Linked DNA regions of Homo sapiens: region 1 is linked to region 2. The links are contacts of gene promoters, found by promoter capture Hi-C in human tissues and cell types (Jung and others, 2019). All regions are on one chromosome and are shown on one strand. Each heading gives the region's core, a stretch centred on a gene start or on the middle of the fragment in contact. The rest is flanking DNA. Distances are from core to core; before and after follow the strand shown.

Region 1 (3,825 bases), core at 1,155-3,654, 250 kb before region 2:
TAGTTTTACTACTCAGAGCTTATTAGACTTGAGCAGATTTAAACGGAAGGACAACTGATTTATAAACAAGGGGGTGATGTGTGACCAAGGATGCCAGCTTCTTTTTTTTGTTTGTTTTGTTTTGTGTTTGAGACGGAGTCTTGCTCTGTCACCAGGCTGGAGTGCAGTGGCGCAGTCTTGGCTCACTGCAACCTCCACCTCCCAGGTTCAAGCTATTCTGCCTCAGCCTCCCAAGTAACTGGAACTACAGGCACATGCCACCACGCCTAGCTAATTTTTGTATTTTTACTAGAGACGGGGTTTCACCATGTTGGCCAGGATGGTCTCAATCACTTGACCTTGTGATCCACCCACCTCGGCTTCCCAAAGTGCTGGGATTACAGGCGTGAGCCACCGCGCCCGGCCTACTAGCCCAGTTTCTTAATATATAGTGGCCAGGTTAGTTATGGATGTCTGCTAACCACGGTCCTCTAATCCTTGGATCAAGTTGCAGATGTTCCTTGATTTACGATGGAGTTACGGCCGAATAAGCCATCTTAAATCAAAAATATCGACCTGTTGGCTGGGCACAGTGGCTCGTGCCTATAATCCCAGCACTTTGGGAGGCTGAGGCAGGTGGATCACCTGGGGGCAGGAATTCGAGACCAGTCTGGCCAACATGGTGAAACCCCATCTCTACTAAAAATACAAAATATTAACCGGACATGGTGGTGGGCGCCTGTAGTCCCAGCTACCCAGGAAGCTGAGGCAGGAGAATCACTTGAATCCAGGAGGCGGAGGTTGCAGTGAGCTGAGAAGATCACGCTACTGCACTCCAGCCTGGACGAGCGAAACTCCGTCAAAAAAAAAAAAAAAAAAAAAAGACCTGTCCAGGCTCAAGTGCTCCTTCCTCCTCAGTCGCTGAGACTACAGGGCGTGCCGCTACACCTGGCTAATTTTGTGTCTTTTTTGTAGAGATGGGGGTTTTGTCATGTTGTCCAGGCTGTCCTTGAACTCCTGGGGTGAAGCAATTTGCCTCCTCAGCCTCCCAAAGTGCTGGGGTTACAGGTGTGAGCCAATGAGCCTGCCTACTGTTATTTTAATGGCATAAACATCACCTCCAGAGCTTAGAAAGGAGAGAAAGAAACTTAGGCAATTGATGTGGAGCTCTTTATTAAAGAAACCAGCTGTTAGTTTACCCTTCAGCACCTTGAATGAAGTGTGAATTTCTGTTAGTAAAATGAAATACCTCTTTTCAACCAGAAGATGGGGCTGGACTCCCTTGGAAAGAAACTGCAGAGGCTCTTTTCGGGAACCGGTTTCCTGTGCTCGCTTTGCCTGTAGTTTCTGTCACTAGTACCCAGCTGTGGTCACTAGTACATCAGAAATCACACAGCAGCTCCAAAAATATACTGATGCCTCCACCCAGAAATTCTGGTTCCATAGGTCTGGGGTGTCCTCTAGGTAAGTGATTCTCAAACTCTACTGCACATTGGAATCATTGGGACACTTAGCACTCCAAGCCCACACTGAAGGAATCAGCATGCCGGCGAAGAAGCCACCAGCCGTGATTTGTGGATGAGCCAGGTGATTCCAGCGTGCAGTATGAGCACCACTGTCTTGGACTGCTTAATATGAGACCCTCCGTTGGTGATTCTGACTTGCACTCCTCGGCCCCCATCCATTCTAACTTGAGTGGGGTTGCATCTGCTGGCATAGGAATGCAGACAGTCAGGTGCCTATTTGGTTGTAGCTAAAGTTAGGGCGGCTGAGGGGAGTCGGGAGGTTACTAGGAAGATTCTGGCTAGGACCCTCCCCCTCTGTGTGGATAGAGGCCTGACCTCCTGCTTTTTTTTTTACTGGGAGCTGGCCCAGGGATGCATAGACGTGACAGTAAGTGAGGTCTTAGCCAGGCAGAGAGGAAGTAACAGAACAGCTGAGAGCAGGTGCTATCCAGGACCTATTCTGTCTCTGTGTCTCTCCAGCTTTGTGACAACAAACTGTGCTCTGCAGTTTTCATCCCGTGGAATCCGACCCGGCCTGACCACTGTCCTAGCTCGGAACCTAGACAAGAACACCGTGGGCTACCTGCAGTGGCGATGGGGTATCCAGTCAGCCATGAACACTAGCATCGTCCGAGACACTAAAACCAGCCACTTCACTGTGGCCCTGCAGGTGAGCCGAGCAGCCATCATCTCCTGCAGACAGAGCTCTGGGAGGACCCCTCCTCCCAAGCACTCAGTGCTCCCCTTAAATCCTGCGTCCTGATCACCACTAAGTCTAAGCCCATACAGGGCCCTGAGGGGCAGGCTCTCGGTGCTCACACTCGAGTGACCTGGTGGAACCTTCGAGTATGAAATGCAGTTGCCTTCAGGCGCCTGGGGCAGCTTTGTTGGATCATCTTAAAGCAGAACAACATCTTAATGTCTGGTGGGAGCCACCCACGGAATTGGGGGCGGGCAGATGAAGCCCCATAGCAGAATCATGCCCTCGGACGCCCCTGTGGCCACACCAGGGCTGGTACATGAGAAGCCCCACACGGGCCACTGCTCCTTGGCTCTCACCAGCCGCTGCCACCTAGGAGCATAGGCTCAGTGTCACCAGAGTTTTTTATTTCTTGTGAGAAGCTAGAAAACTGGGTTTTCAGTGAAGTCTCCCACTTTTTAATTACTGGCTGCTAATAAATCATGGTGCACTCACTGCGGCTGCCAGACCGTGACCCCTGCCTTAAAGGCCTGTGTGCAGCAGATGCCCAGAGCTAGTGGGAGGGCAGATACCCATCTCCCCACAGAGTCACACGCCCTAGCCACGCATCCTTGCACCCTCTGTCTCCCCAGCTGGGAATCCCTCACTCCTTTGCACTGATCAGCTATCAGCACAAATTCCAAGATGACGATCAGACTCGTGTGAAAGGATCCCTCAAGTAAGTCCTGGCCTGGCTAAAATGGAAGCACACTGGTACTGCATGCGGGTCTTCACAGTGGAACCAGTTGGTGTAAGACACCTTGCTCGTGTGAATATCTACGTGTGTGTGACATTTTTGGAGAGCTTCCTATTTTGAGGCTGTGGGGGATTTAACACTACAGTCCCAGCCCTTGAGGAGCTTAGAGAGTGTTGTGGAAGAACTAGACCATGGGTGTCCCAACTTTCTTCTGTCATGAATCTGCTCCCTGGGGGTCGAGGAGGCTGGAGGGAGGGAAGGGAAGGTACCTGGCCTCTTCTCAAATGACAGCTGCCCCTGAAGTGATGAATGAGGGGCACAGGCACAGACCGCGTTCTCTCCCTGCAGAGCAGGCTTCTTTGGGACGGTGGTGGAGTACGGAGCTGAGAGGAAGATCTCCAGGCACAGCGTTTTGGGTGCAGCTGTCAGCGTTGGAGTTCCACAGGGTGTTTCTCTCAAAGTCAAGTAAGTTGAACTTAGGCCTTTCGGGTCAAGGAATGCCTGTCACCTTCACTCAACCAGGCTTTACCCAAGTTAAGGCTGAAATAGCCTTTGCATTGTAATTTTGTTCTTAAAGACACAGTTGCTTGGCTAGGTGCAGTGGCTTATGCCTGTAATCCCAGCACTTTAGGAGGCCAAGGCGGCCGGATCGCCTGAGGTCAGGAGTTTGAGACCAGCCTGGCCAACGTGGTGAAACCCCATCTCTACTGAAAATACAAAAATTAGCCAGACGTGGTGGCACACGCCTATAATCCCAGCTATTTGGGAGGCCGAGGCAGGAGAATTGCTTGAACCCGAAGGCGGAGGTTGCAGTGAGCTGAGATGGAGATCGTGCCACTGCACTCCAGCCTGGAGGACAGTGAGACTCCGTCTCAAAAAATATAAAAAAAAAAATTCAGCCAGGT
Region 2 (3,791 bases), core at 49-2,548:
AAATACAAAAATAAGCCAAACGTGGTGGTGCATGCCTATGGTCCCAGCTACTCAGTGTGGTTGAGGCAGGAGAATTGCTTGAAACTGGATGGCAGAGGTTACAGTGAGCTATCACACCACTGCATTCCAGCCTGGGCGACAGAACGAGACTCTATATCAAAAAAAGAAAACAGGCCAGGCGTGGTGGCTCACGCCTGTAATCCCACCACTTTGGGAGGCAGAGGCGGGCAGATCACAAGGTCAGGAGATCAAGACCATCCTGGCTAACACAGTGAAACCCCGTCTCTACTAAAAATACAAAAAATTAGCCGGGCGTGGTGGCAGGCGCCTGTAGTCCCAGCTACTTGGGAGGCTGAGGCAGGAGAATGGCGTGAACCTGGGAGGCGGAGCTTGCAGTGAGCTGAGATTGCACCACTGCACTCCAGCCTGGGCAACAGAGCAAGACTCCGTCTCAAAAAAAAAAAAAAAAAAAGAAAACAGAAAAACAAAATTCTTAGTATAAAAGTCTTGAAATCACAGAGTTCTGACTTTGACTGCCCCTGCTTCTGGGAGCTACAGATCATGCTGTGGGCTGCCTCCACGGTCTGGTAACTCAAGGGTGACCGGGGTGAGGCACAGTTCCTTCAGAGCTACCTAGCTGAGTGTAAATGGGTTGTTCAAATTGCACTAGGGAGCCGGAGTTGCGTGGGTTTTAATTTAAAGATGTAAGTACAAATCTATGTGCATTGTAGAAAATTCGGAAAAGGTCCAACTGCCTAGCAAGTAAAAAGCTGTCATTCCAGCACGTGGGGGGTGACCGCTTCTCCCTTCTTGGGTGTTTTTTGGTGGATTTTTTTTGGTGACCCCGACTGGCCTAGACTCCATTCAAGGGCACATCTTGTGCAGTAAAACACGCATGTTTCAGGGCTCCTCACTGCAACACGTGCACCTCCAGGCTGGCGCTCAGCGCTCCCAGTAAAAGCTGCAGGCGGCGGTGTAGATAGTCGCCGGCCTTTCCTCCTCCCCACCTCGTGACGCTTTGTGCTGCGGAAGCAAAGGCCCGTTCCATTCCCCGTGTCTTCCCAGCAGCCGCCACCAATGCTCCTTTCTAGGAAACAGCCTTCCATTCTCTCTTAGGGCCGATCTTAGCGAGAGCCGCGATGCGGGCGACTGGTGCCGGGGTGGGTTGGGGGCGGGGGTGGGAATCAGGCCCCACTGCCAGGAGCCCGGGCCGCGCCTTCCGCTCTGACCTCATCCGGCCGCCCAGGCACTGGGCGCGGCAGCGAATCGGCGGCGCGGGCGGCCGGGAACGCCCAGCACAAATATTTACCGCCGCGCGGAGAGTGAGGGCCCAAGTCCGCCCTGCTCCGCCACTTAGGCCGCCCCAGACGCTTCCCTCGGGGCTGCCACCGGGTCGGGCGCGGCTGCCGCGGCTAGCGGGCCTTCCCCGCACCGGCGCGGCCCAACCGCCACCGAACCTTCTGGAAGCGGCGGCTGCCTGGGCCCCCACGCCGCCAGAATCGTACGCCCGCGCGAGCTCTCTGCAGCCTTGGCGGCCTGGGAGGCGGGGCTCGGGGTGGGGCCGGCGCGGGGGCGGGGTCGGCGCGGGGAGGCCGCGTTCGATTGCCCCCGGCGCGCAGGCCCCGCCTCACCAGCCCCATCGCTCCACCTCTGCCCTCCCCCTTTATGGCGCGGCCCGGGCTCATTCATTCCGCGCCGGGCCTGCCAGACACCTGCGCCCTTCTGCAGCCGCCCGCCGCATCCGCCGCCGCAGCCCCCAGCATGTCGGGCCCAGACGTCGAGACGCCGTCCGCCATCCAGATCTGCCGGTAAGAGAGGGCCCGCGCGCAGCCTGCAGCGGCCAGGCGCGCCGGTCACCGCCCCAGGCCTGCCCCGCTTGGCTCTGTGGTCCCCACCCGCCGAGGCCGCCCCCGCCCGCCGATTCCCCGCACGGCCTTCCGCGCCGCCGCCCCGGACGCCCGCCCGGCCGGGATGCGACTCGCGATGCCGCACAAGCCGGGCGGCCCCCGCCCGCCTCCAGCCGGCTCCTCCTGGCCGCATCTCCAGGGCGGCGGCCGCGCCACGGGCCGTTTGGGCGAGAAAGCCAGGCAGGGACGGGGCGGGCGGAGGTCAATGCACAGCTCCAGAGCCCGGCGACCGGCGCCCGTGGGCCGCCCCGCCTCGGGCCTCGCCCGAGCATCCCGGAGCCTCAGCCCCGTGGTCCTGCTTAGCCTCCTCGAGGATTCGGGATCATTACCTCGGCGGTTGTGCTGCGCTAACCAAAGCCCCCAGAGGTGGAGGGGAGGTGCCCAGAGCCGCGCGAGCCCCTCGGTGGGTGCCCCTGTGGGAGGAGGTTGCAGAGCTACCGTCTTCAGTGCACTGCTTCGGTTTGGGGGAGGGCAGGTGTTGAAAGGAAGAACAGATAATACTGTCTACCTCTAACAGTTTACTATGAAGAAAAGGGAATCAGTGGTCTGTTGGGCCTGAAAGCATCTTACACAATAGAGGCAAAGGGTTGTCCTTCTAGAGCACCCCCTCTTCTTCCACCAGGTACTGAGTAGATAGATGCAGGCCCCCAGAGGAAGCTGGAGGCTGGAGATCATGAACAAGCTCATTTCCCATAGGAGGTGGGGAGGGCAGCCTGAAGGTTACTCTGCAGTTCTCTTCGGCAGAATCGGAAGCAGCAGGCTGGCATTTGTGCATGAGCTAAGTGAGGACAAGGAGTCTAGGTTTTCAGCCACTGCACACAGGCTCTGTGGCCTGCGACCGGTCCTATCCTGCTTGATGAACTACCAGGAGTGAGAGCTGCTTTCTGTTTTGGTAGTGGGTTCCTCACATTTGGGGGTTGGGCATCACAGACTGACCTTGGGCTCAAGCCAAGTCCAATAGAAGCAAGTTACTTTCCTGTAGATGTTGACATCTCCAGGAAGGCTGGGCATATAGCAAGTCCTGGGTCTATGGCGATTCTTGACTCTCAGTCTCATCTTCTGGCCTGGTCGAGGGCCTCTCCTTACCTCAAGGTCGGTTTTGACTTTTCCAGAGGGGGAACGTCTTTGGGGGAGCCCTGCCCCTTTGACTTTGGCTCTGTGGCTGTTCTGGTCCCATCGACTCTGGAGGTGGGGAAAGCGGGGCAAAAAAAAAAAAGGAAATAACTGGAGACAGACAGCCTGCATCAGGTTCCTGAATCAGCTCTGCTGAGTATTGGCTGGGAAACTTGGGCTCCATGGTTTGCAAAGAGCTTATACCTGTCTCATCCCACTTGGTTTGCCCAATTCCCTGGGAGGTTGATGGTCGGTAGTGCCACCCTTACCTGTGTGGAGGAGGAAATGGCAGTTTTGGGAGTTGAGTAACTGTGTAAGGTCATCCTGCTCCAGGAGATCCAGGGACAGCCCCTGCCCAAGTCTTCTGACTCCAGATCCAGTATTCTTCCCACCCCTCTCCTGAATAAAGGAAACCTTGATTTAAATCTTCCCGTGGAAGGCTGGCCTTTTATTTACTTCTTCAGGGTGGTGAATAGCCAATTTATACATGTTGTCTTTTTTCACCCAGCTTCTAACAGTTACTAGATTTTTTGTTTTTTGAGACAGAGTCTCACTCTGTCACCCGGGCTGGAGTGCAGTGGCCCGATCTCAGCTCACTGCAACCCCTGCCTCCTGGGCTCAAGTGATTCTTGGGCCTCAGCCTCCCGAGTAGCTGGGACTACAAGAGTGCGCCACCACGCCTGGCTAATTTTTGTGTTTTTAGTAGAGATGGGGTTTCTCCATGTTGGCCAGGCTGGTCTCGAACTCCTGACCTCAGGTGATCTGTGATCT

What was found. The method cuts DNA at HindIII sites, captures the fragments that hold promoters and counts their contacts. A contact is called where the count stands out against the background at its distance.
Region 1: a contact is called between a fragment that was not itself captured here and the fragment with the promoter of ACOT7 in region 2, in 1 of the 25 tissues and cell types used here (pancreas).

Annotation. Positions count from the first base shown.
Region 1 is chr1:6,644,118-6,647,942 of GRCh38, reverse strand. It overlaps DNAJC11 (DnaJ heat shock protein family (Hsp40) member C11), which reads left to right. Exons shown (of 16, transcript NM_018198.4): 8 at 1,965-2,154; 9 at 2,817-2,902; 10 at 3,269-3,385. Among named protein-coding and RNA genes, the nearest start is that of THAP3, 21 kb to the right of the region's middle. RefSeq lists an enhancer at 1,331-1,830. The HindIII fragment of the contact is 9,696 bases long and covers 1-3,825 here.
Region 2 is chr1:6,391,274-6,395,064 of GRCh38, reverse strand. ACOT7 (acyl-CoA thioesterase 7) reads left to right here and starts at 1,298. Exons shown (of 9, transcript NM_007274.4): 1 at 1,298-1,808. The coding sequence starts at 1,666. RefSeq lists enhancers at 414-924, 925-1,437, 1,438-1,949 and silencers at 1,178-1,627, 1,898-1,987. The HindIII fragment of the contact is 35,573 bases long and covers 1-3,791 here.